Regions from separate parts of the Homo sapiens genome. Here region 2 is linked to region 1. Evidence: promoter capture Hi-C in 16 types of primary human blood cells and fetal thymus (Javierre and others, 2016). All regions are on one chromosome and are shown on one strand. The core of a region is centred on a gene start or on the middle of the fragment in contact, and the rest is flanking DNA. Distances in the headings are between cores, read along the strand shown.

The links. The method cuts DNA at HindIII sites, captures the fragments that hold promoters and counts their contacts. A CHiCAGO score of 5 or more calls a contact.
Region 2: a contact is called between a fragment that was not itself captured here and the fragment with the promoter of RFXAP in region 1, in 2 of 17 cell types (non-activated CD4 T cells and total CD4 T cells). The highest score is 8.6, in non-activated CD4 T cells.

Annotation. Positions count from the first base shown.
Region 1 is chr13:36,817,494-36,820,645 of GRCh38, forward strand. RFXAP (regulatory factor X associated protein) reads left to right here and starts at 1,729. Exons shown (of 3, transcript NM_000538.4): 1 at 1,729-2,464. The coding sequence starts at 1,865. LOC124903158 (a long non-coding RNA gene) reads right to left here and starts at 1,578. Exons shown (of 2, transcript XR_007063760.1): 1 at 674-1,578. RefSeq lists a silencer at 1,647-2,016 and enhancers at 2,247-2,296, 2,307-2,536. The HindIII fragment of the contact is 8,641 bases long and covers 1-3,152 here.
Region 2 is chr13:33,542,480-33,545,631 of GRCh38, forward strand. It overlaps a transcript of STARD13 not described here. Among named protein-coding and RNA genes, the nearest start is that of LINC02344, 210 kb to the left of the region's middle. RefSeq lists enhancers at 328-427, 528-637. The HindIII fragment of the contact is 1,343 bases long and covers 764-2,106 here.

The DNA of each region.
Region 1 (3,152 bases), core at 479-2,978:
CTGTTGCCCAGGCTGGAGTGCAGTGGCACAGTCTTGGCTTACTGCAATCTCTTCCTCCTGGGTTCGAGCGATTCTCATGCCTCAGCCTCCTGAGTAGCTGGGATTATAGGTGTGGACCACCACACCTGGCTGATTTTTGTATTTTTAGTAGAGACGGGGTTTCATCATGTTGGTCAGGCTGGTCTCGAACTCGTGACCTCGTGATCCACCTGCCTGAGCCTCCCAAAGCGCTGGGATTACAGGTGGGAGCCACTGAGCCTGGCCTTAAATTTAATCTTCATTAACATTTTCACTGTCACTTTCTTAAGTGCAGAGACAATCAGCAATAAGTGTAAACCTGCTTCGTAGCATTTGATCATTTCCCTGGTGTAAATACTCCAAAAGTGGCTGATTTCAAGCAATCAACATGACATACTGAAGGCAGAGTTGGGAAAATGTGCAGTAACACACCACTAAATAATATTTCCGCATACAGATACAATAGACATAAATAACCTTAAAAGCACAGATAATGATAAAACATAATAAAATAATTAGAAAATGAAGAGTTTTGAGATTTGTACCCTTTGTTTTTAATATAATCTTATTGTAAGTTTATGTAGTAAGACTTTTAATAATAGCAGTGTTTAATTTTTCTGCTAATTATATTCCTGAAATTTTAGCAACCAGTTACCATCAGTTGGCGCTAGCACACCACCGACTGCAGGCTTTACTGATGAGGAAACTGAGGCTCGGAGAGGCTGTCACGAACTTGCTGTAGTCACACAGGAAGTACTACCTAGGTTGCTCTAATTCCAAACCTTCTCCCTTCCATATGCCTCTCTTTAAAACATAACTGATCTACCTATATGTCAGCACCCAAACATCTTAGTGTGAATGGATTTATAGTTTGTTGAATAAAGTCATTGCTTTCCGGTAGGTGGGATGGGAAATCTGACTAGGCGAAAGAATAGGATGAAGGGAAAAAGAACATCTACTTAACAGTTCAGGATACGGCAGGATATTTTCTCTCCTGGGATTTGGGCAAGCCAAGATTTAACAACCAGCAATTGCCCAGCAACTGATAGAACTGGTAGAACATTCATTGTTTTTTTAAACGTTTGCCATTCAGTATTCCTTTTCACACATTTTCACTGTGTTAAACGAAAACGTTAAGACTTATCTCAGCAGCCACAGCAAAGAGCAAGTACTAACAATCAAGTGAGTTTCCAGGAGAAAAAAAACAAAGTTATCCCTCAATGCAAATACAACTCGGCCAAAGGTGTGGCCCATCCCTCTCCGCTCCACTATTTTCAAATAAGCCACCTCTGCCTTCATGGACTGCGAGCTAGTGACTCTAGGCTGTGACACCACTGCATCCCAGCTTCAAATCTCCCCTTGCAGGCAGTTTGTGGGGGAAATAATAAAATTAGCATCCTAACACTACAAGTCGTGAGACCGCTCAGGAACAATCCTAATTTGCATACTGGAACTCCTGTAGAAGATACTTTGAACCGCTTTAGATACAATAGGATCAGGTAAAACGGCGCTGCCTTGCCAGCCACTGCAGGTTTTCACCTGACACAGCCCCCAGACCCTGTCTACGAATCCCCCAGCTGGCCGAAGGGGCCGCGGCCGCACATGCGCAGTCAGTCCCGTTGGTTGTGCGCTCAGCCCCGCCCCCAGAGGCGCCGCGCTCCCTGACAGCCCGCGGGCGTACACACGCTGACGCGCAGGCTGCGGTCGCGCAGGCGCAGTCGGGGCGCCTTCCCGGTATAGGCGCCTTTTACCCCAGCGTGTCCTGAGTCTTTGGTTCGCGAAGTGCCGTTAGGCCAAGCAGGTGCTAAAAGCCCGGGGTCGTGGACCCCGGCCAGGTCTTAGCAGCATGGAGGCGCAGGGTGTAGCGGAGGGCGCGGGGCCGGGCGCCGCCAGCGGCGTGCCCCACCCCGCGGCCCTAGCCCCGGCTGCGGCTCCCACCTTGGCGCCAGCCTCGGTGGCGGCCGCGGCCTCTCAATTCACCCTGCTAGTGATGCAACCCTGTGCTGGGCAGGACGAGGCTGCGGCCCCCGGGGGCAGCGTTGGGGCGGGCAAGCCCGTTAGGTACCTGTGCGAAGGGGCCGGGGATGGCGAAGAGGAGGCTGGGGAGGACGAGGCGGACCTGTTAGACACTTCGGACCCTCCGGGGGGAGGCGAGAGCGCGGCTAGTTTGGAGGATCTAGAGGACGAGGAGACTCACTCGGGGGGCGAGGGCAGCAGCGGGGGCGCCCGGAGGCGGGGCAGCGGTGGGGGCAGCATGAGCAAGACCTGCACCTACGAAGGCTGCAGCGAGACCACGAGCCAGGTGGCCAAGCAGCGCAAACCGTGGATGTGCAAGAAACACCGCAACAAGATGTACAAGGACAAGTATAAAAAGAAGAAGAGCGACCAGGCCCTGAACTGCGGTGGGACTGCCTCGACTGGCAGCGCGGGAAACGTCAAACTCGAGGTATCAGACTTAGCTGAGGCCTGGGGATGGGAGGTGGAAGAAGAAACCCGATCTTAACGCAAACCGCATCTGCAGGGCCTGCCTCCCCACTTCCAAATGGGCCGGTTTGCAGTGACTGGGTTAGTGGTTGAGAATTAGAGTGTTTGCCCTAAATTAAAGTTTATACCAACATGTGCAAAGCAATAACAGTTCTGTTGAACTCATGATAGGTGCAGAAATTTCAGTAAAAATAATGTGACATCGGCAGAGCTGTCATAGATCTGGGATATGGCTGGAAGGACATAGAGTAAATGATCGGTCTGGTTCATCGCTAAAGGAGACTTAGGAACCTAGATGAAGTTGGTACTTCTGAGAAAGTCATCTCTTTCTGTTTTCACTACTCTATTCTCAGTATCCAGTTCTCAGTACCCAGTTCTCAGTACCTCTATTTGTAATACTCCTGTATTTAGTACTTTGTTTTTAGTGTCCTGTTCTGTTAACCCTCTTCCTAGTACCGTATTTTTAGTACTGCTATACTCAGTTGCCTGTCTGTAGTACCCCTGTACGTAGTACTCTTTTCTTACAACTCTGTTCCCAGTACCCCTATGTTTAGTCCCTTGTTCTCATGTTCTCACTACCCCAATACTTAATATACTTTGTTCTCAGTATCCTTGTTGTTAGTACCCTGTTCTCACTACCCCTTTTCTTA
Region 2 (3,152 bases), core at 185-2,684, 3.3 Mb before region 1:
AAACGTGCAAACATTGAAAAAGACGCACACGCAGACCGCGCCTACGTCCCCAAAGTGCGCAAGCGCACGGCGAGACCCCGCCCCTCGCCCTCCCACCAAGACGAGGCGCGCGCACCAGCAACCAGGGCCCGCTGGCGCCGCCCCGGGTTTCCGCTCCGGGGCTCGTCGGTCGCCGTTCGGTTCCGGTTCTGGCCCCGCCCTCACGCGGGAACCCTCCAGAAGTCTTAATATCCGGGACCAGAGGCTGGTTGCAGCGCACATTTCCGGCAACGAGCGCAAAGGAAGGGATCCGGTGACGCCTCTTCCCGTCTCCCCAGCGGCCCAGGCTCTGGCTCTCGGTGCGGCAGCGCCATCTGGTGCCGAGTCTCCCGCCACCCGCGGAGGTGGCACGCGCCCTTCTCTCGGAACCTTCCAGAGAAACCGTGGCCCCTGCTTTCCTTTCTCCCGCCCTGGACGGGGAGGGACCCGAGTCTCCGCCCCGCCGAGTTCCCGCGCGGGAGGGACTTTGTGGCGACTCTGAAGCGGAAGCTGCCTGTAGGAGGAGCTTTACAAACCCAAAATGGAGCGGAAACTGTTCTTTCTCTAGTTTTAAGTCCAGAAGAAACGGCGTCCTTTTATTTTTTGCTTCCTTATGCGTTGTTGCTGGGTCATTCTCAGTCTTCCCCGTATCAGTTCTTTAATCTTTGAGGACTGGGACCCTGTATTAATTGCCTGGTAGGAAGATGACACGAGCTTTGTGGCTTACATTGGCCTCTGCTGTAAAAGCTTTTGTTTCCTTTGGCCTATTAAAGCGCTGTTGTAAAAGCCTGCTGTGTATGTTAGGAACCCATCGAGAAGCAGAATGTAGTAATTTGCTTTAAAATAGGCCATGGAAGTTTCAGAAAGGTAGCCTCAGAAATGCTCAATGTAGATTCGTTTGCATGTCACGTTTCTTTTAGATAATCAGAGAAAGGAAAAGTAATTTCCCCAAAGTTAGTAAAATCAACACATTTTCCTTTAATAATGTTCTTTTTTTCCTGTAATCTTGGAGTACTAACAGAGTTGTTCTAAATGTTTTATTGGAATGGTGCTGTGGATATCAAAATATATAATGAAACAAATTTCCTTTAGAGTTTAGATAGCACATGTTAACTTGACTCTTTGATTGTATTTCTCCTATAGTAATGCTTCTCAAACTGGAGCATGCATCCAGATTCTCTAGAAGGCTTGTTAAAACAGATTGCTGGGCCTCAACACCAGAGGTTATAACTGGGAGGGAAGGTCTGAGGATACAGCTGGATTAGTGTAGCTCTAGTAAAATCTCAGGTGATTCTGATGCTGTTGGTACTAGGACCACACCTGGAATAATTTAGAGTTCAGGATTGCTTTGTCAATAATGCTTTTTGCTGTTGCAGGACAGACGGTACTAAAATATACTGGTGATACTAAGCCTGCACAAGTTAGTAGTCCTTTTGACTCCGTGGATGGGAAGTAGTAAACTAAACCCTAGAACCAGTAGAGAGCTACATAAATGTTCACAGATTAAAGCAACCAGTTCATAGAAATGTATTCTGTATATGATCATGTGATAGAGGGTGCTGTAATACCAAGTATACTAAATATTTCAGTTATTATACAGTAATTGTTCTTTAGCTGTTAAATTAGAAATGACTAAAATTAAGGACAAAATAGTTTAAACAATCATACTAATTTTACCCTTTGGAAGATGCCAGGTTTTTTTCAGTCTTTTGCATTTCCTCAAGTTCCCTTGTTTTACGGAATTCTCTACCCCCAGCCCACTCCCATCCCTACCGTGCCATTTATAAATGTACACAGTGCTTACATTATAAAAAATGATCATCTCAGAACTTGTCTCATCTTTTCAGCAGGACTTTTCTCAATTCTGTCAAATTCTGACTGTGCCACTGCCTTTATTGACACAGTAATTAAATCACGCAGTGATTAAAGTGTGCTGCACACTGTAACTTTTGTGCTTGCTACAAATAGAAATACAGATATTGTTAGATAAGTTTATGTTTATGATAATCAGTTCCTAAAATGTAGAAAGCAGTCGGTTTTCTGGTCTCAGTTTTATTTAAATCACTGCTATTTTGTTTACTGGATGTAAGCTTCCCCCTCTCTGCTCTAGCCTGAATGGGCCTTCGTGAAAAGAAGAAAAAAAAGATTGAGAACAACTGTCTTAAAACCATGGTATTTCCCTAATAGGCTAGTACCATGTATTTGGATAATTACTGATGAATCATTTAAATCAGGGAAAGGTGCATGGTTTTGTTTTTTTGTTGTTTTTTCTCTTTTTTTTTTTTTTTTTTTTTGAGATGGAGGCTTGCTCTGTCGCCCAGGCTGGAGTGCAGTGGCCAGATTTCAGCTCACTGCAATCTCTGCCTCCCGGGTTCAAGCGATTCTCCTGCCTCAACCTCCTGAGTAGCTGGGACTACAGGCGTGTGCCACCACACCTGGCTAATTTTTTTGTTTTATTTATTTATTTATTTATTTGAGACGGGGTTTTGCTCTTGTTGCCCAGGCTGGGGTGCAATGGTGCGATCTCAGCTCATCACAACCTCTGCTCCCAGGTTCAAGTGAGTCTTCTGCCTCAGCCTTCCTGAGTAGCTGGGATTACAGGCATGTGCCACCATGCCTGGCTAAAATTTTGTATTTTCCTTAGTAGAGATCAGTTTTCTCCATGTTGGTCAGGCTGGTCTCGAATTCCTGACCTCAGGTGATCCACCCGCCTTGGCCTCTCAAAGTGCTGGGATTACAGGTGTGAGCCACCGCGCCTGGCCTAATTTTTTGTATTTTTAGTAGAGACGGGGTTTCACCGTGTTAGCCAGGATGATCTCGATCTCCTGACCTCGTGATCCGCCTGCCTCGGCTTCCCAAAGTGCTGGGATTACAGGCGTGAGCCACTGTGCCTGGCCCGAAAGGTGAATGTTCTTTGCCTTATTTTAAACTTTATTGTAATAAATTCACTAATGAAGCAGGCAGAGAAGATGTAAAGGACACTTCATTAGTAATGCTATATTTCATATACCTGCTGTATTTTGGGAGCATTATTGCTATCATTTGGTTTGTTGGATCCCTCCAAATCTCACGTTGAAATTTGATCCCCAGTGTTGGAGGTGGGGCTTAATGGGAGATGTTTTCAGACATGGGGG